Regions from separate parts of the Homo sapiens genome. Here all the other regions are linked to region 1. Evidence: promoter capture Hi-C in human tissues and cell types (Jung and others, 2019). All regions are on one chromosome and are shown on one strand. The core of a region is centred on a gene start or on the middle of the fragment in contact, and the rest is flanking DNA. Distances in the headings are between cores, read along the strand shown.

What was found. The method cuts DNA at HindIII sites, captures the fragments that hold promoters and counts their contacts. A contact is called where the count stands out against the background at its distance.
Region 2: a fragment that was not itself captured here is called in contact with the fragment with the promoter of BHLHE41 in region 1 in 2 of the 25 tissues and cell types used here (heart left ventricle and thymus).
Region 3: a contact is called between a fragment that was not itself captured here and the fragment with the promoter of BHLHE41 in region 1, in 1 of the 25 tissues and cell types used here (lymphoblastoid cells).
Region 4: a contact is called between a fragment that was not itself captured here and the fragment with the promoter of BHLHE41 in region 1, in 1 of the 25 tissues and cell types used here (mesenchymal stem cells).
Region 5: a contact is called between a fragment that was not itself captured here and the fragment with the promoter of BHLHE41 in region 1, in 1 of the 25 tissues and cell types used here (mesenchymal stem cells).
Region 6: a fragment that was not itself captured here is called in contact with the fragment with the promoter of BHLHE41 in region 1 in 1 of the 25 tissues and cell types used here (lymphoblastoid cells).

What each region holds. Positions count from the first base shown.
Region 1 is chr12:26,123,124-26,128,176 of GRCh38, forward strand. BHLHE41 (basic helix-loop-helix family member e41) reads right to left here and starts at 1,914. Exons shown (of 5, transcript NM_030762.3): 1 at 1,595-1,914; 2 at 1,396-1,459; 3 at 949-1,056; 4 at 507-618; 5 at 1-45. The coding sequence starts at 1,656. It also overlaps a transcript of SSPN not described here. RefSeq lists a silencer at 3,326-3,495. The HindIII fragment of the contact is 3,249 bases long and covers 1-2,399 here.
Region 2 is chr12:25,319,739-25,324,791 of GRCh38, forward strand. No RefSeq gene overlaps it. Among named protein-coding and RNA genes, the nearest start is that of KRAS, 71 kb to the left of the region's middle. The HindIII fragment of the contact is 3,284 bases long and covers 897-4,180 here.
Region 3 is chr12:26,888,013-26,893,065 of GRCh38, forward strand. No RefSeq gene overlaps it. Among named protein-coding and RNA genes, the nearest start is that of INTS13, 47 kb to the right of the region's middle. The HindIII fragment of the contact is 6,896 bases long and covers 1-5,053 here.
Region 4 is chr12:26,863,063-26,868,115 of GRCh38, forward strand. No RefSeq gene overlaps it. Among named protein-coding and RNA genes, the nearest start is that of ITPR2, 32 kb to the left of the region's middle. The HindIII fragment of the contact is 3,541 bases long and covers 1,151-4,691 here.
Region 5 is chr12:25,391,804-25,396,856 of GRCh38, forward strand. No RefSeq gene overlaps it. Among named protein-coding and RNA genes, the nearest start is that of KRAS, 140 kb to the left of the region's middle. The HindIII fragment of the contact is 4,501 bases long and covers 1-4,234 here.
Region 6 is chr12:26,840,139-26,845,191 of GRCh38, forward strand. No RefSeq gene overlaps it. Among named protein-coding and RNA genes, the nearest start is that of ITPR2, 9.5 kb to the left of the region's middle. RefSeq lists a silencer at 4,938-5,053. The HindIII fragment of the contact is 3,235 bases long and covers 405-3,639 here.

The sequences.
Region 1 (5,053 bases), core at 664-3,163:
ACGCATCCAAGTCGGACTGAATGGGCGATTTCAGAGATCGCTCCCCTAGGATGAGGAAGGGATGGGGGTGGGGGACGGAGGAGTGGAGGCAAGAAGAAACATACCCACGTTAAAACATCTGCTTATCACGTGGGCCCTGCATCGACTAAAGTGATCTCGGTTTTTCCCCAGTATTCAAGTGATATAATCCACCAGTTGACGAGAGAAGCGGGGTGGCGGAGGTGCGGAGCGGGGAGAGGGCGCTCTCCTCCCAGCTGAAAACCAAAGTGGAGCGGGTGCAACCGCCACTTTAAATCCTGATTCCTCCGAGTTCTGCTGAAAGCCTCTAGGATGCTTCGGGAAATGGGCTCGTTCCAATGAAGGGAAAGTATAAGCAATTTAACAAATGAGAGGGAACCCATGAGCCCACGGAAAGAGATGGGGTGCGGGTGAGGGAGTCCTGACACTGCTCCCCTGTGGGCTGCCCCGCTTCATCAGGGTAGGCTGGCCTCCCTGAACTGACTTACCATTCTGTAAAGCAATTATCTTCTGATGCTGTTGCTCGGTTAAGGCGGTTAAAGCTTTTAAGTGTTTCAAAGTTAATTCCAAGACTACAGCTTTCTCCAGATGTCCCAGAGTCTGCAGTGGTGCAAAAAAGAAACGGGCACTTGGTTACTTAAAAACACACATTTGGCTTAATTGGCTGTCCATTCAGCACAGCAATTTAAGCAAACACTTTGAAAGAAGTACTGTTCTTTTACTTCTTGAGCTTTCCACAAGACAGGTTATAAATGATTTCTTGCCTTCAGCTGGGAGCACCTACTCCAGTTTGCGGGAAACTCTGTACGGTATAGCACAAGTTTTAAGTCAGGAACTTATATTTACATTTATTCTTATATTTTCTGGGAGTCGCACCAGACTATTAACACGCCCTTGGAGAGCAGCAAAGAATGAAAATGTGCATCTTACTGTCAATTTCAGATGTTCAGGCAGTAAATCTTTCAGCTGAGCAATGCATTCATTAATTCGGTCTCTTCTTTTCTTTTCTATTAATCTGTGCGGTAATTTGTAGGTATCCTTAATATATGAGAGTCATGGAAAAGAGAAAACAGTAAGCGAAACATTCACTTATTGGATATTACCCTCGTCTGCCCCCCCCGCCCCCCCACCATAAAACATACTATGTGATAAACTACACCCAAGAAACCTCTTTCCTCTGGACTGTTCTGCAATGCAATTTAAATTCAGGTATGATGTTTAATATCCCCCTGAGAGTACCCAGCAAGCCACTTAAAATTCACAGTTGGGGAAGCTCAGGGGCTGGAATATATTTGCGGGCAGAGCTTCACTGTGAAATCAATGGCTCTAATTAACTACCCATGCAGGTTATGAGGAATATCGGGAACTTACACTTACCTTGGTGTCGTCTCGTTTCATGCTCCTTTTGGGTTTACACATATACAAAGAGGAATAGTCCAGTCTGCAAAACAGAAATCAGCATCAGGCACCCATTCGGGGAGGGGCTCTGCCCTCGCCAGCTCCATACCACTTTCTGGAGAAGAAAAAAATCAAACCAAAGCCTAGACAGATATTCGCAAGGGTGCGTGCACCTTACCCTATAAAATCTCTATGTTCCAGTAACTGTCTCTCTTGCAAATGAGGAATTCCTTCGTCCATGTTCAACTGCTGTTCGTTTCCTCTGTTTCGATTTTTGGGGCTCTGTACAATAATCTGTGGGACGGTAGGCTTGGGAGACCTTGGGGGGATCTGTGCGTCTCCAGTCTCTCTCTCGCTCTCCCTCTTCAGTGCAGTGTTGAAAGTGTGAAGCAGTTGGTCCCCCCCCTCCACCGCGCTCGCACACACACACGCACACACACGCACACTCGCGCCGGCCCCACTGCGCTGGTAGTTTGCTCTCACTCCAGGCAGTGTTTGGCCACAGGGCACGCGCGTCGCCGGCCAGACCAGCACCCAGCTCACGTGCGGAACGTACCATCCGCGGTCCAGCCCGGAGGGGGGCGGGGGAGGAGGGGCCGGGCCGGGCGGGGGCGTCGGGAGAAGGCGGCGAGAGAAGGCGAACGGCAGGAGGGGGCGGGGACACCTGATCAGGGCCACCGGAAAGGAAAAACAACTTCGGCCAAGCTATTCATCTTCCCAAAGGCGATGCAGTCGGCAGGAGGAGGGGGGAGTGGGGGTGCAGGGGTGCGGGGCAGCCTGAGCTTCCTTGGCTCCAAAATGCGACTCCCTGGGTTCGTCCGTTGTTACGGTGCAGGAATGTGAACGTGGCTTTTTGCTTTTCCACCGATTGTGCTGTTGGTTTGAACCATAGAAAGGAAGTGAAAAGAGAATTCGCGGTGGGTAAACTTGAGTCCCAAAGGAAATTTTGGAGACTTGTTTGCTCACTGATCAGTGGCCTGGAGGGACTCCTTGGCGCTGGGTGGAGAGGTTGCCTCGAGAAGAAGCAACTTGCAATCCGCTCCTTGAAGGATTTAAGATACATGAAAACGTTGTCACTGGGTCCGAATGTCGCAATCCAAGTGTCTTTCGGTGACACGGCGTCCCTGGGCCAACTAAACTTCCCCGCAGCAGCCGGAATTGCGGTGCCACTAATCACAGCAGCAGATGACGACGTTTGGGGCCGCGTGTGCTCCTGGAGGAACGCGGCGGGGAGCGAGCCGGGGTTGAGTGGGGGCTGGGAAGGGAGAAGGGGGTGGCACGAGAGGGGGTGGCACGAGAGGGGCTACCACAGAAAAGCTATGCAGCATTTATCACCCGCCCGCTCAACTCTGCCGCGTTCTGAGCCTCCGGTGACGCTACGTGCTTTCCCCATCCCCCCGCCCCCCCGCGCGATAAGAGACGCCCGGAGTGTGCAGAGCCCACGTTTACTACCGCTGGCACCTCCAAAGCCTCCCTCCTTAATCCGGTCTCAAACGGGTACCAGCACAGGGCCAGCAACGTGATCCGACCTGCCGCTGCTGCCACATCACTGCTCGGGGAACCCGTGCGCGCGCGCGCTCGCCCTGCAGCCGCGGCGCTCGGCGCCGGGAATCACAGGCCAGCAAGAGCCGGGTTACCTTTCCCCAGAGCCACCCTGGGAGCATGACTCACTGCTAGTGAGAGTTACCGGGAGGTGCCCGGGGATGCGCACTGCCCACGCCGCCCTGCCAGCCCAGGGGAAGGCATGTCCTGAGGGACTCCCAGGGGTGGGATGGAGGCTATATATATATTTCTCTAGATATACATAAAGACATAGAGAAAAAAACCAAGGTTTTTCCTGCACAGAGAGGGATATTTACATTCTCCCCGGGGTGATCTCTGAAACGTTGATTATTGCCGGTGATAAGTGAACCGAGGGGAGAAGAACGCCAAAGGTACATGCACCAGGGCGCAGCAGGGACTGGGGCGCCCGCTACGTGTCCCCCGGCCCGCCCCGCCGGGCACGGGTTCCGGGGACGGATCTGGGTCGCGGGAAGCGGCGGCTGGGAGGAGGTCACGTGTCTGCGGGAGTCGCGTCTCCTCCCCGACTCCAGGAGCAGCCCGGGCCGCGGCGGCCGCTCGCGCTGCTGCAGTCTCCGGAGTCCTGGGCGGAGACGCGCACTGCGTCTGGCTTCGTGACTCGGGCGGCGGCGGCGGCCCAGGATCACCCCGGCGTGAGGAGACGCTCGCGGTCCGTTCAGTTCATCTGTTTAGAGGGCCTTTTAAGGTCTCTCGACTTCCTCAAATAGAGGAACGTATTTTGCACCAAACAGGCAATTTAATCACGATGGTTCTTAATTTAAAAAGTATTTTTAAAATGCTGACTTTATTTTAAATCTCGGTCCGACCTCTCTCCTATTTCCAAAAGGTTAGGTAATTAAGACCCTTCGATGGGGAGGGCACGTTGGAGCCCTAAAAGCGACCTATTCCTGCAGTACTGTATCATTTTTACCTCTTTTTAATTGACTAAAAATGGGAATGCCGTTAGGTGAATAATTTAAAAATTAAAACACCAGGTCCCCTTCTAGATTTCTGAATGTTTGGAGTAGAAAGGGGATGTAAATATTTGCTCCAGAGCTAAATTTCACTTGAAAAGGATGACTGGTTAGGGAAAATGAAATAAAGACAAGATCATTGCATTTTGGCCTCGTCGGGCTAAAAACACAAGGCAGACATCTGACCAGGGCAAACCTTAGAAGCTAAGTCTGGGGCAGAGATTAAATGCAAGTTGAAATAGGAGGAACACGATCAGGAGCCTTGAGGCTCAAAGGTGGGTTAAATAAGCTTGCAGCACCCCATAATTTAAAGGGACAAAAAGCTGCAAATGACACATGAAGCTTTTTTCTGTTATCTCTTTGAGGCTCCTCTCTCCCCCCATCCTTTCTGCCCCAAGCTTCCCCACTTCCGTACCCTTTTCCCGTGATACCTACTCAAACTGCAAATGGGGTCTTTTCCCAATTTTTATCTCCTTTGTTGTTCTTGATCCCCTTTTCCTCTTCTTTTCTGTCTTTCCTTTACATATTCACCTTTTAACTCATGTTTCCCTTTTTCATTTCTTCTTTATCTTCCTTTCCCTTATGTTCTCTGTCTACCTTTTCCCTGTTAAATGCCAGCTTTTGCCATTTCTCTGTAGTTCTGTCAATCTCCTGTTTGCTTTTTGCCCTTTTTTTTCTTTGATCTTTCACCCTGGTGACTCTTCTTGGTTACCCACTTCCCTTAAACTTGAATCCCATTCCTGTTCTTTCTCAAACTCTTGGCTTCTGGAATATTGGGCATAGTTTGATGCCTCTGAATATCCCTTTGCGCAAGAAGGGTGTAACAATAGCTAACAACTATATAGCCTTTAAGATTAGAGTACCAGACTGCATTCAAAGAGCTTTTTATGTATTAAGTCATTAATCATTTCCACAACCCTCTAAGGTAGATACTATTATTGTTTCCATTCTACAGATGAGAAAATGCTTACAAAGTGAGATTGCAAAATATTTCCAAGGTCCCAGAGCCAGGATTTAAGCCCAGACAGTGGGTTCGAGAGTCTGGACCCTGGACGACTCTTACACCTCAATGTGAATAGTGAGTGGTAAGGTATAAGTGTTAA
Region 2 (5,053 bases), core at 1,289-3,788, 800 kb before region 1:
TTTTTTATACCACTTCAAGGACTACACAAAAGAAAAGGTTTAGCTACATCTGACTTCTTCATGACACTGCAAATAAAGCAAGCCAGTACCTATTCCCTCTATGTCTTTATGAACTAATGCTACATACAAAATTCAAGACACAACTGTAATGATTTTTACTTAGGGAAAATTTTAAACATACTTTCTGCCTGAAGGGCAAAGACTAGGTCCAGTAATTTCAAAACCCCTATAATTATATGATTTAGGAGAAAATGCAGTGAAAACCTCTTTTTTTATCCCAAGTGGAAGAAAACATTGAATGTCTAGGTTGGTGGTCAATAGTGTACAGAATGAACTTTACTTTGTGTAAGCTTTTAAAATAGAGACATTTATCTCAAACTTTTTTTGTTGTTTGCTAAATTCTAGAGTTAGAGACTTGTGATCAATAGCCCAGACACTTCTCCATTGTACCAGCCAACTTTCCCCCTGAGGAAAACAACTTTAAACTTCAGAGACAAAAACGAGAAGTGCTCAGATGTGAAAGTTTCACTAGCATTTCTTATCATCAGACATGCATTCATCTAGCATGTATAGCAAACCTACTATATTTAGACACTATGCAGGATACCAGAAGGAATACAGAGGAGACGGCATAGCACTTGTAATTGAGCCAAGCACAGCAGTTTTATTGGGATAGGTTTGATTCACCAAATGGCAAAGAATCTGTGTGATGAATTTGCAGTTCTAATTAAAATTCCCCAGAGTCGGTTCTTTAAGTCTCAGCCCTAATTCATTTCCAGAAAGCCCTGTGGTTTTAAGGTGATTTATATTGCTTCTGCAAAGACTGTGGAGAAAGCTCTTGGCAATCACATGTCTTGTACAAATACAATTTACAGATCAAATCAGAGAAAAAGTACCGTAGCAACTCTGGGGGAAGAAACCATGAAATGTCCCAAACCCCATACCGTTCCTAACACACATAGGCACCTGATGTGTATTGACTAAATAAGAGTGCTATGTCAGATACTAGGAGGCCACAAAGGTTAGGAATGCATAATTCCTCCTCCCAGGAAGCTCTCACCTCATGGGGACAGGGTGAGACAGATGACTGTTAACCAGACAGACTTGCTTGTGTCAGATCCCTTAGCTCTCCCAACTTGGCCATCACAGAGGTCATGGGTACTGTGTTTAAAGGTGTCATGAGCCCCTGAACTTGGGCTCAGGAAATTCCCATCTGCTCATCTTGCAACTGTCAACCTTGAACTTCCTCACACATCAATGCATCTCATTCCTGACCTTTTTGGTCCTAATCGTTGGTGTCTAGCTTCACGGAGACTGGCAACCTCAGTTAAAACTACTTACGTTGGTGCTGCTCCGGACAAACTTTTAGGAAAGTCAGCATAGTGATAAGTGAAGCACAGACTCTTGACGATTTCAACTATCTGCGCTATATGTATTTGAAGCTTGGCTGTGCTATTTATAATGATTTTGGAAACCTGGCATAACTTTTTGTGTATGCTTCAGTTTCTTAATCTTCTGAATTACGATCCTAATAGTGCTTAACTCATAAGGTTGTTATAAGGATTAAATGAGTTAATATCTCCAAAGCACTTAGAAATGTTTCTGGCACATAGTTTTTATGTCAAGTAAAGGCTATTTCCTGTGGTTTCCTCTTGGTACCATTTTAATAAATGCAGACAATTGGCCCCATGGCCACATGGCCTAACCAGACACCACCAGTTGGCAAAGAGCATGAGTGATCAAAAGTAAGGAGCTAGGAAAGTAAAGAATGTCGAATTAAGGGTCCAGTCTGGCTAAAGCACTGGGCTCAGGGGACTGCATATGCAGCCGTGATTTTAAAAGGTTGACAAGGAACAGGTTGTGGAGAAACTTAAATACTAAGATGGGGAGCTTGTCATCTATTCTGTAAGCCATGTAGCATTGCAAGATAATAGTGCTCTAGAAGGAGTTCTAGCAGTAGTAACGAGGATGGACAGGAGGCTGGGAGATAAGCAAGAAAATATTTTTAGAAAAGTTGCAATCATCAGGCAAGTGGTAATGAGACGCAAAACTAAGGTGGTGACAATGTCAGTAATATCAAAAGAGAAAATGTTACAATAAAAGAGACTATTTGTAAGCAAAACTAAAAATGTATAAAAATTATTTGCCTGGCTGTGATACGTCAGGCACATAGAAGGTGCTTTGTGAACATTGTTTCATTTAACTGGTGCAATACCTGGGCTGAGTAAATATGGGTACCTGATTAATTCAGATGAAGAAACTCAGGGAGATCACGCAATTAACCTGAGGTCACAGTTCTGGAAAGTGGCACAACAGGGATTCAACCCAAGTCAGTCTGGTTTCAAAGTTTCATCTTTTTTTTCACCGTTTAAATTCATGTAGGGTATGAGAGAAAGGGAGAGGCTGAATGTGCTCCCAAATGCTCTTGGAGGCTGAAAATGTATTAGTTTAGATGAGAACATTTCAAAGATGAGATGCTTCATTTGGCTTTGAAATTTAAAATTTTAATTGTTTTGGAGATATGGCAGTTTAGCAGGCAACTGGAAATTCAGATGCTGAATTAGGAGAGAAGTCAGGACTGGAAACACGTATTTTGGAGTCATTTGCAGAAAGTTGAAAAAGTTGAGTAAATAAGCTTTCCAAAAAAGATCACCAAAGAGAGTAAGATAAAAAGAGGGTCAAGAAAGACTCTTTGTAGTATTTCATTTAATGAGTAGAAGTGAAGGAAAATCTGTGAGGTACAGTGAGGTTAAAGGTTCAGAGAGGGGAGTCTAAGACTTCAAGGAAGAGAATTCAACAGGAAGTAGGTGTCAGCAGTGTCAGATGCTGCCGAGATCAGAGAGGGTAAGAATAGAGAAAAGTCCAATGAATTTGTGTTTAGGGAGGCCACTGGGGACATTTAGGAGAACCATTTTTGTAGAGTGGGAGACCTAGATTTAAAGTGACCATTTTGTAATGAAGGTAGAAAAGCAGAGGGGACATTAAAATGGGGATGGGAAACACCCAGCATGTTTCCATTAATAGGTCAAGGAGAAATCAAGAAGAATCAAGAGTGATTGACACTTTGTAGAAGGATGACTGATGGAGGGCAAGGCCGTGGAGAAGGCTGGAGAGAATGAGAACAGGGCATAGATGAGGAGTTTTCCCTGGAGAGGGGGTTAGTCTCTTCCTCTTTAGCCATCTGAAGAAATTCAGGGTAGAGGCAGTAAAGGACATGTTGCCTGCTCTCTCTTTCCTTAAAAAAGTAGATGCAAATAATGATCTGCTAAAGTTGAAGGGCTTCGATGGGGTATTTGAGGGGCAGAAGAAGAGTGTAAACAATCCAGGGCTTTCTTTTTTACCTTTTACTACCATATTGTTAAATGACTCATTGCAGACACTGCATTTCCTTTGTCTTCCCTTTATTGGCTTGTGGGTTGTTTTTACTGGCATCAAGCGTGAGATATAGTATACTTCCAGCTCTTTAAAGTGTTCTCATTTTTTCCTGGAACTTAGGAAATATATTTACTATTTCATGTAAAAAGTGAGAATACCAAAAGAGGATACGATTGTCACAAAACAATAAGCAAGTTAATTAAATAAGATATGGCAACTCAGCATAAAAATACTGAAGTGATGAACCATAAATGAGATTTTTAAAAAATGAATTCCTTAAAATGATAGTTAAATCACTTAAGTAAGCTTTGTCTTAGATGGCCATCACATTTTCTAAGCATTATCCCAGAAAAATGAGAAGCATATTTTTACTTTCAAGCATTGTTCCTCATACTTCATTTGCCCTATTTCAAGATAAGAAGAAATATCTTTCATAATGTGAGTAACAATAAAACCACTACTGATGATAACGGTAATAGAAACATTCCCAGTTCTTCCAAATTGTAGGTCAGGGACTGAACTTCAAAGGAAAGACTCTGAAATTCATGCAGAATGGGATGAATTCCAGCCCACCCACTGCAAAATGCTTCCCTACTCATCTATTTTCCAGAGATATGCTTAGTGTCGTGGGCATGCTCAGGGATTTTCCTGGTCATGGAGAAATGGCTGGTGTGTAGCTGCTCTGGTTCAGTTCTCATAGCTCTCTGAGGGACACAGAAAAGGGCTGAATCCAGCAGCTGTCTTAGCTGAAAGCTAAGGGGAAAAAGTGAGAGGGGGATGGTGAGATCAAACTTTCATGTGTGGCCCATTTTTGATGTGGCTGAAAGAACTGGTTAGAACAACACTTTTCATCTTGAGGAGCTCAGATATTTTTGGCCTCCAGATAATTCTATATGTGGATGGGCATAGTAACTAGCACAAGATTAAAGAAAAGACGGAAGAGGCACTCAGTGATGTATTTAGTTTGTTTAGTAAAGGCAGAGGTTTAATCACACACTTGCATTTTCCCTCTTCAAAACTTTTTCCCTTGAGGAAGAGCCATGCACTGTTTTACTGTTTACTAGGTGACAGTAAATTCTGTAATATGCATAGTGTAACTCTATGTTAGACAGTTACATAAATTAACCCATTTAATATTATCAACAACCCTGAAAGGTATATTTTGTTGCCTCAGTTTTGGAAGTGGAGACACCAACTGTCTAGAAAATAAGCCAATTTCCCAAGACCATTCAGCTAGAAAACAGAGAAACTGAAATTTGAATACAGATTGTGTGGATACAAAGCCCATGCTCCACCAAAGGAAGCTTATCCATGGACTTCCCCTACCCCTACCCACACATATACTATAGCCCTCCACCCAGAGATAGTCTTATTTTTTCTCTTGATTAAAAAAATAATAATAATTCCAGGGCAGGGTGGCTGAAGCCTGTAATCCCAGCATTTTGGGAGGCCGAGGTGGGAGGATCACTTGAGGTCAGGAGTTCGTGACCAGCCTGGCCAACATAGTGAAACCCCGTTTCTACTAAAAATACAAAAATTAGCAGGGCATGGTGGTGTGCACCTATAATCCCAGCTACTTGGGAGGCTGAGGCAGGAGAATCACTTGAACCCAGGAGGCGGAGGTTGCAGTGAGCTGAAATTGTGCCACTGCACTCCAGCCTAGGTGACAGAGTGAGAC
Region 3 (5,053 bases), core at 1,177-3,676, 770 kb after region 1:
AAGGATAGGATTTGAAGAAATAAAATCTTGTATTTAAAAAAGAATGAGGAACAGAAGACATAGAGATGTTTTCACAATGTTGCTAAACAATAAAACCTTAAAACAAAGCTTATTACAATAATCCCTTGAATGGGAAAACAACTCCCAAGTAAATGAAAATTGGAGAACTAAGTTTTTATTTCTCATATCATTTTATTTTATACTCATCGACCACGTACTAGCTGAAAACAGTCCTTTCTCTTTTTCTCTTTTGAAAGGCAGCTTCTTGTATACATATTCGTCTATAAAAACATAGAACGTATCTGAATATTCTGGTAACGTAAGTGAAAGAAACTAGGAGATTGGGCAATGAATCTCCTATTTTACCTTTTGAATTTTTATATTGTGTTCATGTATTATCTATTTTTAAAAGGTTAAAAGGCAGTTCTACATAGCCTAACAATTCACATTCAAGTATTTTTATCTTCCTCAAATTATTTTCAAATGTAGACATAACCATGTCATTTACTCTCTCTTTCAACCTAAACTTTGAAGTTTTCTCTCTAGAAAGTTACCTCTATCTTCTAAAAGAATTTTTATGCAAAATTGTGAAAATTATAGATCAGGCCAATAATAACTAACTCCCACACAGCAATTCACAATTTATAAAGTACTTTCATATATGTCATTCCATCTGTTTTCGTTCTTTTGTTCATTGACTCACTCATTCATTCAATAAGAATTTGGTGAGTGCCTAAGCGTCTTATACAAGACTCCTGAGATAGGAGTTGAAGATAATATGAATAAGCTGCTGTCAAGCAACTCATAGTGTAGTATTCCAGTAGGGTACACAGAAATGTAAAATATAAAAATTAAGAAAGGATTTTATTTTTATAAATTTTTGTAACAAATTTTAAATTTTTACTATTCCTTTTTATTTTATTATATTTTATCATTTATAATAACATTTTAAATATTTTTAATAAATTTATTTTATAAATAAAAATTTTAAAAAATATGAAAAATATTTAAAAGTATGACTGCAATAACAGAACCATATATAACATATAGAGACTAAATTAGTAGCTTTAACTAATTTAGTTGTTTTAATTTGGATGGAGGATGTTGGCAAAAACTGGATGAAGTAATGTCCATAATAGATTTCTTTCTTTTTTTTTTGAGAGGGAGCCTAGCTTTGTCACCCAGGCTGGAGTGCAGTAGCGTGATCTCGGCTCACTGCTACCTCCACCTCCCAGGTTCAAGTGATTCTCCTGCCTCAGCCTCCCAAGTAGCTGGGATTACAGGCGCCTGCCACCATGCCCGGCTAATTTGTTTGTATTTTTAGTAGAGACAGGGTTTCACCATGTTGGTCAGGCTTGCCTTGAACTCCTGACCTCAAGCGACCCACCCGCCTTGGCCTCCCAAAGTGCTGGGATTACAGGTGTGAGCCACTGCACCCAGCCCATAATGGATTTCTAAAGTTGAAAAAGTTAGCTAGCCAGAAATGCATTATAGGTTGAAATGACTGCTCATTTCAACCGGGCTGTCCCACCCTCAGAGCCTTTCTGGTCCTGTGAGAATTACTACTTTGGTTTCCATTCAGCAAACCACACTCTTCTAGAGCCGCTGGCTTCCAACGCCAGCTCTGAACTGCAGCCTCACCATGGGCTGTTACTGAAAAGAGCACATTCAATAACTGCAGGGGCCACTGACCAGTACTTGTATCTGAGAGGGGACCCGCTGTTGGTCTAGCTGCAAAAAAGATGAGAGATAAAGAAATGTAACAAAGCAGTGGCTCGTGCCTGTAATCCCAGCACTTTGGGAGGCCAAGGTGGGTGGATCACCTGAGGTCAGGAGTTCAAGACCAGCCTGACCAATATGGTGAAACCCCATCTCTACTAAAATTACAAAAATTAGCTGGGCGTTGTGATGCGTGCCTGTAGTCCCAGCTACTCCAGAGGCTGAGGCAGGAGAATCGCTTGAACCTGGGAGGTGGAGATTGCAGTGAGCCGAGATCGCACCACTTATTGCACTCCAGCCTTGAGACAGAGCCAGACTCTGGAAAAAAAAAAAAAAAAAGGAAATATAACAAGCAAAGCAGAGGGAGAGATAAAGAAAATTGAAAGGAAGGGAAGGATATGGGATATGGAGAAGGAAAGGACAAAAGGAATAATGAAGGGAAGGACAGAGGGAGGAACATGAGGAAAGGAAGGATAGAGAAGGCCAGAGGGAGGGAAAGAGAAGGGAAAGAAAGGAACAGTAAAGGCCCAGGGTAGTGAAAGGCTCATCAGTGTGCCAGCTCACTCGCAAAGTGTCTTACCTCAATTAAGATTCAGAACATCCCTGCAAGTTAAGTGCTATTCCTCTTTTTTATTTGAAGAAACCGAGACTCAGATCAGTTAAATACCTCAAAATAATGTAGCCAGTCTAACCGACAAATTGGAGTTTAAACTTTTAAACTCCAAAACCCACAGCTGTTCCATTGAAATCCCCTACTTTCCCATCTGAAGTTAGAATAACTGGATTTAGATCAGGTGCTTACTCTACGTCTTTGGGTACTTAGCTACTTTGAAACTTAGCTTCTTCAACTATAAACTAAGAAAAATAATAGTTGCCCTCTCTTCCCTCCTAGTTGTTGGATGTAGCAATGAGAGGATGTATGTGAGAATACCACATAAACTCTGAAGGAATACATAAAAATAAGGGATTGCTAGTCAAGCAGTAATCCATGCTGTGTTTTTGTTTTAAATCTTCAGCATTAGGGCCGAAGGAGGTTCAAAGGAATTTTCTGCCATTATAGCTGAAATTACTCTTAAAGCAGCTGCTGAAGCTCTTGGTGTCCAAGAGCGTCTCTTTTTGGTATACACGCTGGCCGACTATTTCCACTTAGATCCTTCTTCAGTGACGATGAGCCCATTCAGAAGCAAGATAAACAAGCATCTGTGGAATCTTCCAGTGATGGCTGAAGATCCTAGGCATGTCATCACTTTACAAGGTGACCTTGTACAATTCCACTGGCCTATGGGATATAAGGTTTCCACAGTACTGCCAGAGCTAATGCAAGTGTTTCAACAGCAAGCTTCCTCTAAGTATCTTGCCCAAGTTTTAGGATATACAATTGAAGGTTGGAGATTACTTCAAAAATCTCAAACAAGAAGACCCAGGCAGTTAAGCTCAATCCCCACTTCAACGATGGGGCCAACTGAACTCATTACAAAGCTAAGCAAACCTTTCTCTGTTTTGTTACCCACCTCAGTGACTCACTGGATGCCCAAAGATGAGGCATCGCCAATTCCCAGCTTATGTGCTGCCTTGAGACAGATCACTCCTATCCCTGATCCCAACTTTATTCCAAATACTGCAAGGAGTTTATTCCAAAAGTGCACAAAGACTAAAAGGCCACAGCATACAGCAGTGTCACAGAATTCGCTACAGGAAATGTCCTTGACTACAAACCTTGAATATTCTGCTGCTTTTGCTGAAGTCACTCCTTCGATGGTACTAATGGCTACTGCATTCACAGATTTTGACTTCCTTCAGGGTAGAACTTCTACAGTGTCAATGTCAGTAGAAAATCTAGACTCTCCAGAGTGGGAACTAAAAGGACACACCCTAATCCACGGGACAGAAATACAAAAGCACACTATTTTACCCGACCTTGTCTCAGAATCAATTAGTCAAGCCGGGTATTCACAAGCTCTCCTTTCATTATCCAAGTACTCTCATTTTCTTAAGCCCTCAGTAATGCAGGATATAGCCATGCCTTCAGAAGTACTGTCTTCAATGACAACATTTCTCAGCAAATGGAGTGGCTCTGTTCCAGTCGACTGGGAAAAATCTGTACATTCACCTGACAGTCTCTTGACACCTACAGCATCAGCAAGGGAGACACTGGCAGCCTCCCATTTTCCCCTTGAGTTCAGTCAAGTACTCCTGTCAAATCAGCTAAGTCAACAGCACCTTCATGAGCATAATCACACATCTGACACTCCTGAAGTTTCTCAACAGATTCATTCATTCATCATTCCTACAGAAATAATTTCAGCTCCTGGCATGAGCATAAATACAAAATTTGTATGGAATAGTACATCTGACTCAACTCTTTTGCCCATGGAAACTGATTGTTTCATCAGCAAACTCGTAGATGAAGGCTCATTGTGTGATGGTGATGTGATTATCAAAACTCAGTCATATTCTAAGGAGACCCCATCATTTACTCAATTACATGACTTATCTGAACTGTCCCTTTCTGAGGTGTCTAAATTTTCAAATGCATTTGAGTTACCTGAAAATATGGGCTCAAAAACTATGATGCATATTCTTAGTGACTGGTTCTGAGGCACAGAACATTTAGCTTTCAGTGGATTCTCAAGAACTAGCCAGATTTTGCCAGGCAATACAGTACTTAACTTGGATTCTACTGACATGTTTATAAGTTACCCACATACCTCCAAAAACGTATTAACAGCAAGATACAGGACTATCTCTGACTTTAATAAGGTACAAGGTAAGATTGTGGGAGTTGTTGAGCTTTCTCTTTGCCATATTTTTCAGAGAATATTTATACTAACAAGCAGCAACCAACTAAATAATTAAAACAGAGTAACCTAGTGGTAACCGTGTGATGAAATTACATGTGCTTGATTTTCTTCTCTACATTTGTCTATATTTTCCAACTTTTTCAAGGAATAGAGTTGTTTTTAGGAAGAAAAAACTTTAAGAATATATCATGTAAGAAAAGTCAACAACAGGCCGGGTGTGGTGTTTCATACCTGTAATCCCAGCACTCTGGGAGGCCAAGGCAGGAGGATCACCTGAGGTCAGGAGTTTGAGACCAGCCCGGCCAACATGGTGAAACCCCGTCTCTACTAAAAGTACAAAAAATTAGCCAGGCGTGGTGGCAGGTGCCTGTAATCCCAGCTACTCCGGAGGATCAGGCAAGAGAATCGCTTGAACCCGGGAGGCAGAGGTTGCAGTGAGCTGAGATCGCGCCATTGCACTCTAACCTGGGCAACAAGTGCGAAACTCCATCTCAAAAAAAAAAAAAAGAAAAGTCAATAACAAAATACAGTAC
Region 4 (5,053 bases), core at 1,671-4,170, 740 kb after region 1:
CTCATGTTACTTCAAATTCTAGTCTTTGTTCCCAACCTGCCTGATTCTATTTACTTTTCAGAGTCCTCAGAGAGCTAGTTCCAGTGTTCTTTTCAGATTTTATAGCTGCACACCATAGGAGAGACAGGGAGCAGTGCGCTTACTCCATCTATCCTGGAACCAGAACCGTTGACACCAGCTTTTTGGACATCTAACTCTCAGTGAGTCAGTGGAAGTTTCTCCCCTCCCCTGTCTTACCCATCCCCAGAAACTGGAGTTTTAGTTAAGAGCGGACTGGTGAAGCAGGAGAGGGATGACACGGCATCTGCAGCAGCCACCACTTGCTAAGCTATTGTGCTGCTTCTCTACCTGCCTGTCCTCATCTTTAAGTTAAATTACAGACATCATTAAATATCACCCATAACCACAATACTATTATAATACCTAACCCAATAAACACCAATTCTCCAAAACCCAGACCATATGCAAATTGTTCCTATTGACCCCAAGATGTAAGGAACCAAATCTTCATGTTTTAAAGGATTATAGCAGTACTGTAGGGGTAACCTTAGCTGACATGTAAGTAAAGGTCATAATCACGTGTTCACATAAGAACACAACCTCAGCCTTTATGTCTAATCTTAATTAACATCTTTCCCACGTGCTGCTCCCCCTGATGGCCATGCTGATCTCTAGCAAGTACATGGAACAGAGGAAAGCACTAATCATTTGAAAAAGCTTTTCAAATGTAATAAATGAATTCATATTTTGCGCTAAATCTATTATTCATGAAAAACCATCATACGTTGAGTTAGAAATAATTATTTATGGCTGTGTTTTTTGGGTTTCTTTTTTTTTTTTTTTTTTGGTTTGTTTGAGACAGAGTCTCACTCTGTTGCCTAGGCTGGAGTGCAGTGGCACAGTCTTGGCTCACTGCAACCTTCCCCACCCAGGTTCAAGTGATTCTGCTGCCTCAGCCTCCCGAGTAGCTGGGATTACAGGCATGTGCCACTACACCTGGCTAATTTTTGTATTTTTTGTAGAGATGGGGTTTCACCATGTTGGCCAGGCTGGTCTCGAACTCCTGACCTCAGGTGATCCTCCTGCCTTGGCCTCCCAAAGTACTGGGATTACAGGCATGAACCACCGCACCTGGCCTATGATGGTGTTTTTAAGCTGCCAATCATGACTCATCAGTGAATTGTGAAGTCAATTTACTGGATTTCGACCAGTATTTTTTTTAAAGAAAGAATAGAACAGAATAGAAACTTTCAGAGCACATTCTACATAGTAAGTAAGTGTTGTTTTATGACATGTTATTTTCAATTCTCTGTATGTAAATATATGTGTTGTAAGTTGCAACAGAAATCTATTTCTTACGGTAGTGTTCAAGAATTTTGAGGGCCACAGCTTCATAAGAAATCCAAAGTGGCTCTTCTTAGAAGGCTAGTCCCTTTTCCAGTATCTACAGGGAATAATCAGATCCAGGAGACCCAGTCTTCCCATTTTCCTCTATCTCTGGTTGACATGAGATTTCCTAAAGATTCAGATATCTAGACAGGGAGGATGATCAGCAGTGCATCCACCAACCAGCTGAGAAGTAAGCTTCCCTGGACATAGTGCTCAGAGTACTATGGCATCACATGAGAGGACCTCAAGGAGAACATAAGGAACACAGATGACAGGAAATTAGGACACAGGGCAGGAGTGAAGAGGACATGTGTATGAAGCCTTAGGTTGCCAGCCATGTTTATAAGCAGCATGAATCAGAACAAAGATGAGAAGTAGGCTGACCATTTCTGCAGTGTAACTCATCAAAAATCTGCAGAGACAGTTGAAGTTAGTGGTTGGGTGTTTGGGCCCAGCAGCATAACCCTCTGGGATCTAATCCCTGTTCTCCTCTTACTAGTTTGTCTATTATTGGGAATGTTAACATCTCTGAGCCTTATTTCCATCATCTCTCTCTATATATATTTATATATAATATATAACTATACCACACATATATATAAATATATATATATATATATATATATATATATTTTTTTTTTTTTTTTTGACAGAGTCTTACTCTGTCACCTAGGCTGGAGTGCAGCAGGGCAATCACAGCTCACTGCAGCCTCAAACTCCTGGGTTCAAATGACCCTCCCACCTCAGCCTCCTGGGTAGCTGGGACTATAGGTGTGCACCACCACGTCTGGCTAATTTTTAAAACATTTTTTTTTGTAGAGACAGGGTCTCACTATTTTGCCCAGGCTGGTCTCAAACTCCTGAGCTCAAGTGATCCTCCCACCTCGGACTCCCAAAGTGCTGGGATTACAGGTGTGAGCCACCACACCCAGCCTCTATCATCCATAAATTGGAAAGAAAAGGGTTATTATCTCATAGGATTTTTATGATTATTTAATGAGTCAATGCATGTGAAGAAGTTACATTGCTTCTGGCATATAGTAATGATTCAATGAAAGTACTTGTTATTTTTTGAGAGATTTTGGAGATGAGAGGGAGAGTAAGAGCAATAAGATTATGAAATGAGATAAAATACAATGACTCTCACAATATAATTACAATATTTTTGTTAAAAAGATATGACTCGGTATATGACAGCCCTGAAACTACTTTCAACATTTTCTTCTCTGGTAAAGATGTCAGTTTCTCATCACACTGGCTTGGTTGAAGTTACCTTCATGCATTTCATGATTTGCAGAGATCAAGGAGAAATTAATATTAAATCAAAAAATTCAAATATTAATTTTAAAAAATACTTGTTTTTTAAAAATCTAATCTAAACCTCCCTTACTTTAAAATTGTCTGCCTAGGTGTGTTTCTTACATTTGGAGACACTCTAAGAGACACCAGTTATCTAGGGCAGGGAGGGTCCAGGCAATTAGATCAAGAAAAGTACAGGAAAGAGTGTGGGCTGCAGGGGTGGGAGGGTAGCTACCTGTTGAGGATGAATTGATGCCAGGAGACATGTAGTTCCCAAAGGTGGGCCCCAGATTCCAGAGAAGGGCAATTGGGTGAATACCTCACGGAAGCCCTACTTTTCTGGCAGGCACATGAGTCTACAGGGGAGAACTGTTGTAAAATTACAGCCTGCAATTTAGAAGTAATCCCCCCATTAAGGATAACTTTGCCTTTCCACCAGAACTCAGGGACAACTAAAATGTAAATGGTGATAATGTATTGTCAGACCCCAACAGACATGTTTTTTTTCCTTACCTCCCAAGGTAAGAGAGTAGAGACAATGCATACTTTTAATCTCTTTTTTCTATCTCCTCTATCCTACTCTCCTTCCCAAGTTCACCCTTTTTCTTTTTATTTTTTTAAAGACAAGGTCTCACTCTGTTGCCCAGGCTGGAGTGCAGTGGCACTATCATAGCTCACTGCAACCTCAAATTCCTGGACTCCAGCAACCCTCCCACTTCAGCCTCCCCAGTAGCTGGGATTACAGGCATGAGCCACCACATGCAGCTCTCTCACCCTTTTTCTTCATAGAAACTGTTGTCTGCCTAACATTAAAGGTGTACTTTAGCTGGGTGTGGTGGCTGATATCTGTAATTCCAACACTTTGGTAGGCTGAGGTGGTAGGACTGCTTGAGCCCAGGAGTTTGAAACCAGCCTGGGCAACTTAGTGAGGCTCCTGTCTCTATATAAAAAAAAAAAAAAATTTTAATTAGCCAGGTGGGGTGGCACACGCCTATGGTCCCAGCTACTCAGGAGGCCGGAGTGGGAGGATTGTTTGAGCCTGGGAGGTTGAGGCTGCAGTGAGCTATGTTCATACCATTGCACTCCAGCTTGGGAAACTGAGCAAGACCCTGTCTCAAAAAGGAGGAAAAAAAGTGTACTTTAGTAAGCTTGCTAAGCATTAATTTCTAATTAAGATTTTATTTAGAAATAAAGTTTTATTACAATAAAACTTAATTAGAAATAAAATAATAAACCATAAAAGACTATCTTAAGACTTTACTTCTTTAATATAAGAAGAGCTTATTCCAATGGTTTTATTTATCTTGATTGAAGTTTGTATCTTTTTCACAAAAGAGTGTTTTTTAGTATCTCCTTTCCACACAATGCTTGTATTTTTTATCAGTTGGCTTGCCTCAATTGGATTCAACCCAGGAGGGTACCTTTTTTTTTTTTTTTGCAGAAGTTGCTCAAACTGAGTACTGACTCCTCTCACACGGAAACCACAAGTGTCAGTTTTTCTTAACTTGAAACAAAATTATTCTCCCCGTCTTACCAGCAGTTTTCCAACACTTGCTAGTTTGTGATCTTTCTGTTTCATAAACTTGACCATCTTAGTTATCAACTGACTGAACTGGCCAAGCCCTACCAATGTCACCTGTGTCTATCATGAGTAATTTCTGTTTAGGGCCTACTATTTACAGGGACCTTTTAAACAGATGAATAAAGCCTTTTTCTCTATCACTAGGATCTCTGTCACCGGTGGGAAAAATTTTAAGACACACATGTGTTTTGTTAACTTAAAAAAACATGTAATTTATAATTTAGAAAGGAGACTATTTCTTGTAAAGAATTACAGCCTGCTAATATCCGGAATCTACAAAGAACTTAAACAAATTTACAAGAAAAAAAAAAACAACCCCATCAAAAAGTGGGTGAAGGATGTGAACAGACACTTTTCAAAAGAAGATAATTTATGCAGCCAACAAACATATGAAAAAAAGCTCATCATCACTGGTCATTAGAGAAATGCAAATCAAAACCACAATGAGATACCATCTCATGCCAGTTAGAATGGCAATCATTAAAAGTCAGGAAACAACAGGTGCTGGAGAGGATGTGGAGAAATAGGAACGCTTTTACACTGTTGGTGGGAGTGTAAATTAGTTCAACTTGTGGAAGACAGTGTGGCAATTCCTCAAGGATCTAGAACCAGAAATACCATTTGACCCAGCAATTCCATTACTGGGTATATACCCACAGGATTACAAATCATTCTACTATAAAGACACATGCACACATATGTTCATTGCAGCACTGTTCACAATAGCAAAGACTTGGAACCAACCCAAATGCTCATCAATGATAGACTGGATAAAGAAAATGT
Region 5 (5,053 bases), core at 734-3,233, 730 kb before region 1:
AGGAGTGCGAGCGCATGCCACAGGACTGGTAGGCAGCTCCATCTGCAGCCCTGGTGCAGGATTCACTGGGTGAAGCCAGCTGGGCTCCAGCTGGGCTCCTGAGTCTGGTGGGGACGTGGAGAACCTTTATGTCTAGCTCAGGGATTGTAAATACACCAATTGGCACTCTATCTAGCTCAAGGTTTGTAAACACACCAATCAGCACCCTGTGTCTAGCTCAGGGTTTGTGAATGCACCAATGGACACTCTGTATCTAGCTACTCTGGTGGGGCCTTGGAGAACCTTTGTGTCCATACTCTGTATCTAACTAATCTGGTGGGGACGTGGAGAACCTTTGTGTCTAGCTCAGGGATTGTAAACGCACCAATCAGCCCTCTGTCAAAACAGACCACTGGGCTCTACCAATCAGCAGGACGTGGGTGGGGCCAGATAAGAGAATAAAAGCAGGCTGCCGGAGCCAGCAGTGGGAACCCACTCGGGTCCCCTTCCACACTGTGGAAGCTTTGTTCTTTCACTCTTTGCAATAAATCTTGCTACTGCTCACTCTTTGGGTCCACACTGCCTTTATGAGCTGTAACGCTCACCGTGAAGGTGTGCAGCTTCACTCCTGAGCCAGCGAGACCAGAAACCCACCAGAAGGAAGAAACTTTGAACACATCCGAACATCAGAAGGAACAAACTCCGGACGCGCCACCTTAAGAGCTGTAACACTCACCGCGAGGGTCCGCGGCTTCATTCTTGAAGTCAGTGAGACCAAGAACCCACCAATTCCAGACACAACAGCACATGCCCTGAGGTGTGGCAGACTTGGGTTCCTATCTCAGTTCCTGGACACAATAGTTGCATGATCTCAGCATATTTATTCTCTCTGTGTCTTGGTTTCCTCAACTGTAAATTAGATTAGAATAACGTCTATCTCAAACAGGTGTTAAGAGGATTAAATAAGATATTCTAAGTTTAGCTCTGAACACAGTGTCTTACACAGAGTGAGTGCTCATTTTTGTTGATTTTATTTTTATTAAATAGCTCTATTTTAATCTATATAAGGTATGACCCAAGAGGAAGCACTACTTAGCCTAAAGTATTATTGAATTGTTTGCCCAAAGATTTAGTAGAGCCCATTGACATTACGTATAAGTGAGTCAATTACTTGGAAAATGGAAAAAAGGGAAAACTAGGTTTTTTCCTCAGAACCCTTCTATGAAAGGGTTTTCCTTGGAAGGATAACCCTTGGAAGATAACCCTTGGAAGGGCTATCTAGTGGATATTTATCCGCTAGAGCCTGGGTGTGACCTGGGAAGTCCTCACAGCCTCTTGCTCCACAGAGAAAGAGGCCACTGCTCAGTAGTTAGGATAAAATCTAACCCCAACTCCTGTGTGGACGGGATGGAGATGGCAGAACAATCTAAAAAAAAGGTATTGCTGGCCGGGCGTGGTGGCTCAGGCCTGTAATCCCAACACTTTGGGAGGCCTAGGTGGGCGGATCACAAGGCAGGAGTTCGAGACCAGCCTGACCAACATGGTGGTCTACTAAAAATACAAAAATTAGCCGAGTGTGGTGGCAGGTGCCTGTAATCCCAGCCACTCAGGAGGCTGAGGCAGGAGAATTGCTTCAACCCTTGTGGCAGAGGTTGCAGTGAGCCGAGATCATGCCACTGCACTCCAGCCTGGGTGACAGAGCCAGACTCTGTCTCAAAACAAAACAAAAAACATATTGCTTTCTTTCCTTTTCTGAAGTTACCATAGTCCAGGAATAAAAGGGAAGCTGTTCAGGATGCCCATTTTAATTTTTCAGTGGCTTGATTTTCAGGTATTTTTGGTAAAGATACATACTTTCTTTCCCCTTTATTATCAAAGGAGTATGTACTTGTAATAAACTCAAAAATACTGAGGCGTCTAAAGTAAAAGATGATGGTTGCCCTTGCAACACATACTTTTAAACTCAGAAATCTCTCTACTTCCAACTTTTATCCTTATGAGTATATTAAAATAAATATGAAAGTGTGTGAACAAAAGAAATTGGAATGCATTACTTTAAACTTAATTCAAAAGGCTAATTAAGTTTGAAATTATTCTAAATGACTCTAAGTGAGGATTCAACATTCATTCATTCAGTAAAAAAAGGTGTTTCCATCACATTTTTGGCCTCATAGAAAGTTATTCCTGAGGACACACTTCGCTGGCTGTCTTCTCACTTCCTTTTTCCTTTGACCTGAACTTATATAAAGTGCCATTTGCAAACCATTTCTTCTTTTTCAGCCCTCAAAAACTCCAGCTCCTACGAAGTTATTCTATCCAGCTTTATGGGAGCCTACCGTTTTATGTGCTGTCATCTATGATCTCTTAAATTACTTCATGTCCTTCGTTGAAGATTGCAGCACGTGGCTCACTGTCTCCTTCTTCACTCCGCTTTGGTCACCATTTTCAGCAACTGCGACATCCATGTGCTGTCCCATTCAACATCACACGTTCACAGTTTCCGGATCTCCTTCTTTCTAATGATCTTTTTATCTTCCTCCATTTCATCCTCCTCCTTCCAGTCATGACTTCACCTTCCTGTTACCAATAATTAGATTACCTTCTAAAACATTGATTGTTTCAAGCCTTTCCTCTCCCGCCAGTGCATTTACCCTTGGAACTCCTACTTATTGACTCTACAACTTTTTCAATATCCATTACCTAATGAATGGCTTCATTTCTGCCCCCGCCCTCACCGCCTTTTTTTTAACTTTACTCTGTATCTCTACCCAGTAAAATGTAAGCTCCACGAAGACAAAAGTCTACTTTTTCACTCTTAACTCTAGTGCCTGGACCGGAATCATGTCTGATACATAGAAGGAACTCAATAAACATTACATAAATGCATGAGAGGCCAGGCGTGGTGGCTCACGCCTGTAATCACAGCACTTTGAAAGACCGAGGCGGGCAGATCACCTGAGGTCAGGAGTTTGAGACCAGCCTGACCAACATGGTGAAACCCCATCTCTACTAAAAATACAAAATTAGCTGGGTGTGGTGGTGCACGCCTGTAATCCCAGCTACTTGGGAGACTGAGGCAGGAGAATCACTTGAACCCAGGAGGTGGAGGTTGCAGTAAGCCAAGATCGCACCATCGCACTCCAGCCTGGGCAACAGAGGGAGACTCTGTCTCAGTAAATAAATAAATAAATAAATAAATAAATAAATAAAATTCATGAATGCCTACTGCAGCCAAGCATTTGGCAAGAATAAAGAGACAAAAATAAAACCTCTACCCTCAAGAAGTTTAATCTATTTATGCATATGTATTTGCACATGCATGCACATTTCAACTATTTTTCCTTGAATCAACTGCCTATTCTTAGTTCGTTTAAAAAATAATCTTACATTTTATTATTCCAATGTCCTTATACTAGATTTGGAAAGTCTCTTACTAGTAATAAAATCTTTCAGCTTTCCAAGCATATCTTTTAGGTATATAAGTAATTGTGCAAGGCATTGAAAAACCCTAAAAATAATTAGCTATTTTTTAAATCTACTTGGTACAAACAACTATCAACTCGAAAACACTAGAAACTGATGATGTTGGCAATCAGTCTTCATGAACAGGACAGCATTCAGGTATGTTAGGAGTTTCATATTATTTTCATCTACTCTCATCTCTAGCCCCATTGATAGCCCAAATGTCACCATTGTGCAAAACAGAAAATTCCCCTACTCAAGACACTTTTTTGCCATCTCCTAGAAAATTGTTGTAATAACTATATAAATCTGCAATGATTACCAGTATGAATGGCTCCCATTAATGTTATACACTTCCACAGTTTAAAAATATTGTTCAACCCACTATTTCCAAAATTTATTTGATCATGGAAACTTTCTGTATGCTACTTAAACATATCAGATGGAACTAACATTATTATTATTATTATTATTATTATTATTATTATTATTATTATTGAGATGGAGTCTCCCTCTGTCACCCAGGCTGCAGTGCAGTGGCATGAACTCGGCTCACTGCAACCTCCGCCTCCCAAGTTTAAGCAATTTTTCTGCTTCGCCCTCCTGAGTAACTGGGACTACAGGCACCCACCACCATGCCCGGCTAATTTTTGTATTTTTTTTTTTAATAGAGATGGGGTTTCACCATGTTGGCCAGGCTGGTCTCAAACTCCTGACCTCAAGTGATCCGGCCGCCTCAGTCTCCCAAAGTTCTGGGATTACAGGTGTGAGGCACCACGCCCAGCCAACATTTGCTGATAGGTAATTTGAGAAGCATTGCTCTAGATTACCCATATAAAGTGGCTGGTTTTAGGCCTATGGCTTTTATTCCAATTGTATATATTTGTAATATTATTCTCTGTTCTTTAAGGGCTAGACCTGGAGTCGAATGGACTTAGATTTGAAATCTAGCTCTGAAACTAACTTTGAGTGAGTTATACAACCTCTCTAAGGATCAATTATCTCATTTGAAAACTGCAGATGGCAATAGTACTTTACTTAGAAGATTACCGTAAGGACTGCAGGAGGCCTTGCTATGGTCTCTGAGTGTGCTAACATCATTAAATGGTAATTATTCTACTCATAATGTTCTTCAGGCTATCGGATTTATAGAACAGAATTACTTAAAAGAAGGTATGTTTGAATGAGGAAGCATAAGTTTGAAGGAGTAATTGTAAAAAATAAAAGCTAACTGAATTTTGTTGTAATTTCATTTTTATAAAAACAAAAGTTGTTTTGAATTTTAACCAGAATTTCTGAGCTCTTCAATAGACAACATACACAAAACTCAGGTCATGTGTCAATATAGAAAGAAGACCCATGTTTAGCAAGTTTGGACTTCATGTTTTTGCCCAAAGTGAACACACATACTCCCATATTCATGCCATATGGGTAATGTAATCTCCCAATCAGAAAGAAAAATAAGGACATTAGCTTTACTTTTTGAGATGGGAGAATCACTAGAGCCTGGGAAGTCAAGGCTGCAGTGAAGGGAGATCACGCTACTGCACTCCAGCCTGGGGGGCAACGGCAGTGAGACCCTGTCTCAAAATAAGTAAATAAATAAATAAAC
Region 6 (5,053 bases), core at 772-3,271, 720 kb after region 1:
TTTGTTTTATCACTGCCTTTACACACGTACGCATGCAATTTATTTTCAGAACCATTTGAGTGTAGGTTGCATACATCATGCCCTATTGCCTTTTAATACTTCATGTATACCTAAGAACAAAGATATAGCCACAGAACAACCATCGAGTTCAGGAAATTTAACTCTGATATACCACTGTCTCAATAGTGTCTTTTACATCATTTTTTTCTTCCAGGACAGAATCCTATTTAGAATTACATATAGCATTCAGTTTTCATGTTTTTTTTGTCTCTTTTAATCTATAACAATTCCTTAGCCACACTTTGGCTTCAGTGACATTGACATTTTTTAAGAATACAAGCCATCTGGCCAGGCACAGTGACTCACGCCTGTAATCCCAGCACTTTGGGAAGTCGAGGCGGGCAGGTCACTGGAGGTCAGGAGTTTGAGATCATCCTGGCCAACATGGTGAATCCCCGTCTCTACTAAAAATACAAAAATTAGCTGGGCGTGGTGGCAGGCACCTGTAGTCCCAGCTACTGAAGAGACTGAGGCAGGAGAATTGCTTGAACCCAGGAGGTGGAGGTTGCAGTGAGCTGAGATCGCGCCACTGCACTCAGCCTGGATGACAGTGCAAGACTCTGTCTCAAAAAAAAAAAAAAAAAACAGAAAAAAAAAACAGAAAAAAGAATACAAGTCATTTACTTATAGGCTGTTCCATAATTGGATTTGTCTTGTATTTCACACTTAGATTTGATGAAGCATTTCTAGCCAGAATACTACAAAAGTGATTTTGTGTTCTTCCCAGGGCACCCTAACCTTAGGCACACGATGTATAGCTATATCTGCTCTTTGTTGACAGTGTCAGTTTTGATCACTCTCAGAGTGTTGTCTAGTGGACAGGAATTTAAGAATAATCCCAAACCAGATCTGTTTTGAAGATGTGGCCCAGAAGAAACAATCTTAGCCTGGGAAAACTCTGGAAATGCAGGCCAATCTCCAGGCAACAAAAAGTCTGACATTCATCTCAAAAATATTGTCTATCACATCTTTTGACCCTTAACCTCTCTGTTTCCAAAGCCAGAGTTTGACATCAATCTACTGTGTTTCCCTACCTGCAGGAGACAAATATAAGCTTTCCATGTGGTGCCTTTGAAGTTCTTCTCACTAGATTAGATCTGAGAGTCAAAGACTTCCCTCCCCATGACTGACACACACACACACGCACACACACATGCATGCACACGTTCTTCTCTCCTGCACTGGGTATGTACGGCGTGAGACGCAACAGAGCAGTAGCTCATTCCAAAACACTCACATCTCCAACAGCCCAACTGTTTCATATCCTTGGTCTGGGAGAAAGATTTTTAAGCATTGTATCCCTTGTGGTCAAATATTTCCTTTCAAAATTTGCATCTTGGTCTTACTGATGGTATTTCGATGCCTCCACTGAAACTCCCAACTTCACATCCCATTAAAATATTCTTCTGAATATTATATATATTCACCATAATCATATGGTGAATATTATATATATATATTATTTGAGGGTCACAGTTCTTAGAAGTATTTACACTACTTGCTGCTGAATCGCTTATGGCTTGATCTGACCCTAATGTCATAATTCTGTAAGGGCTTGGAAATGAAAAAGAGGAGAGGTGTTGTAATTAGAAGTATTTTATGAAGAACTGATACAACTGATACCATTTGGTTCTAAGAACCATGATCAATTAGAGCTGAGAATCATCAAAATATTGAAGAAAAGAGAAAATGGCCCAGTCTCTATAACAGAAAAGAATGGGGAGTTTTAAGAAAAAAATGAGCCAGTCACTGTGGTTCACACCTGTAATTCCAGTTCTCTGGGAGGCCAAAGTAGGCGGATTGCTTGAGCCCAGGAGACCAACCTGGGCTGCATGGCGAAACCCCATCTCCACCAAAAATACAAAAATTAGCCAGGCGTGGTGGTGCATGCCTATAGTCCCAGCTACTCAGGAGGCTGAGGCGTGAACCCGGGAGACAGAGATTGCAGTGAGCCAAAATCACGCCTCTGTGCTCCAGACTGGACGGCAGAGTAAGACCCTGTCTCAAAAAAAAGTATGCATATCTAAAATCTTGCCTACTTCAATTTGCAGTGATTCTTCCCCAAATACAATTTAATGTTCCCATGTAGATGTCAGAAAGCATTTATCAGGCACTTAAATGAATCCCATACCTGTATGCCACAATAGTTAAGGACACAAGTATTGCATAGACCTGGGATGAGTTACTAATTCACAATTTACTCTCTACCAGGCTTTATGCAAATACATAACCTCTGGGGCCTCGTTTTACTTATCTGTAAAATGAGGACAATAATGGTATCTATCTCATGTGGTCTTTGTGAGGTTTAAATTAGAAGTTACATTTAAGGGGCTTGATGTGGTGCCTGGCATAAAGTGCTTAATAACCTTTCATGTTTTTTGTTTTGTTTTGCTGTTTTTTAGAGAGAGGATCTCACTCTGTCATCCAGGCTGAAGTGCAGTGGTGCAGTCATAGCTCACTGCATCCCAGAATTCCAGGGTCAAGCAATCCTTTGGCTTCAGCCTCTCAAGGAGCTAGGACTACAAGGCATAAACCACCACATCCAACTTCAATAAATATTAGCTATTATTATGATTATGATTATCTGTGAGAAAAGCAGCATGAAATGTCATAAGAAAACCAAGCATCAGAGGTGTTTCTGTCTATGCAATAAGACATGCCAGTGACTGAGCCCACACCAGAGCTGTCTCCAGAGCCTCTGGGCCACCAGCTCTGCCATTTACAGATCAATCCCTTCCATCAACTGTAGCGAATTCTTTTTTTGTTGTTTTTTGTTTTTGTTTTTTGTTTTTTGTTTTAAGATGAGTCTTGCTCTGTCGCCTAGGCTGGAGGGTAGTGGTGCCATCTCAGCTCACTGCAACCTCCGCCTCCCAGGTTAAAGTGATTCTCCTGCCTCAGCCTCTGGAATAGCTGGGATTACAGGCCCCCACCACCATACCCAGCTATTTTTTGTATTTTTAGTAGAGACCAGGTATTGCATGTTGGTCAGGCTGGTCTTGCACTCCTGGCCTCAAGTGATCTACCCGCCTCTGCCTCCCAAAGTTCTGGGATTACAAGCATGAGCCACACTGAGCCAGGGCAAAATTCTTGATAATTATTAAATTTTTCTTTTTCAAGGAATTTGAATTTTTTAAAAAATATGTGTAAGAGAAAGAAATCAATTTTTTTAACAGACACGTTTCAGACATCAGGGAAAAGCAAATTTTGAGACAAAAGAAACAAAATGGCTAAATTTCCAGCCTGGTGCTATAAAACCACCCACAATTGTCACATGAGAACTCTGCTTTCCACAAGCTGACAGCTTTTTATCTCTTCAAAGAAGGTAGCGGATAAAACCCACAGAGAAAACTGCCATCTAACACCAGAGAATGCTGCCATGCTTGTGGTTCCTGATTTTTGGGAAGACATAATACTTTGGTTGGGCAAAACCAGGGAGAATAAATCCAGGGAAAACTTCCTGGAGTCCTTTTTCTCACCCCTGTGATTCCCCCAAGTTTACCTTTGTTTTCTCTCATTTATGAATCTAGTTTGAAATGCAGTAATGTGGGTCTACTTTAGTGCATTATTTCGGATGTATACATCCTGATTACCCAACTAATTAGCATCAATTTGTTTAAGGCAAGAACTCTGAGTTGTACTTTTTGTTTCAGAGTGAACACCTAGATGTGAAGGAAGCTGTTTTGTACCTGTTTTTTGTACCTATAGGCACAGTACCACAGTCTACAGTCCTGATTATTTGTAAGAACTCAATATATAAAAAAGAAAGTATAAGAAATCAATGGGAAAGCATGAGATTATACAAGAAATGATGTTATTTACTTACATGGAGAATACTAGTTTAGCAGTTTTAAGCTATCACGTATCTTAAAAATAAATCCAGGGCCAGGTGCAGTGACTCACGCCTGTAACCCCAGCACTTTGGGAGGCCAAGGTGGAAGGATCACTTGAGGTCAGGAGTTTGAGACCAGTCTAGGCAACATAGCCAGACCCCATCTTAAAAAAAAAAAAATTTAATTTAAAAAATTTTAAAAACTACATCCATAGTCCCAGTTACTCAGAGGCTGAGACAGGAAGATCTCTTTAGCTCAGGAGTTTGAGGCTTCAGTGAGACATGATGGTGCCACTGCACTCCAGCCTGGGTGACACAGTGAGACCTTGTCTCAAAAATAAATTAATTAATTTTATATTTAATGACTTAATGTATTCATCTGAATTCAAAATTCACCAAAATAAAGGGAATTGAATATTTACCATCTTAAGAACAGGGGATACCTATGCTTAGAAATACATATGCATTAATATAAAAACATAAAGCAAATTATGAAGTAAGTTTAATTCTTACAACTTTAAATTTTTATGTAAAAATTCTAACACCAGTAAGGGAAGGGGAAAGGGTGAGTGAAGGGAACAAAAAGCGATATAAATGTGTTTACTACCACTGAACTGCATACTTAAAATGGTAAAGATGGTAAATTATATATGTATTTTTTCTTCTATTTTTAAAATGTAACAAAAAACTCAACTGAAAGTAAAACAACAAAGTGGGAATAGTTTGCAACAAATATTATAGGCAAAAGGTTGGTTATAGGCAAAAAAATAAAAGTAATATAATAGTGAGATATCATTTCTCATGCATTAGATTAGCAAAATAAAAGTTTTTAGTTATTGTAACCAATGCTGTTAGTCAAACAGCCAATATCATATTTTGTACAACCATTTTAATGGCAATGTGGACATATGGAATATAACCTAAAGAAATAATCCTATGTATGAAAAGTGCTTTATTCACAATTATGTTTATCATAGTAATAATAATAAGCATGGAGAAGAAAATAAATATTGAACAGTAGCAAATTAGTGATTACACTGTAGCAGCTGCCAGGGAGTATAGTAAGCAATTCTTACTAAGAATATGTAATAATATGTAAAATGATTTATATGATGACTTTATTTTTATTTTTTTATTTTTTTTTATTTTTTTGAAACGAAGTTT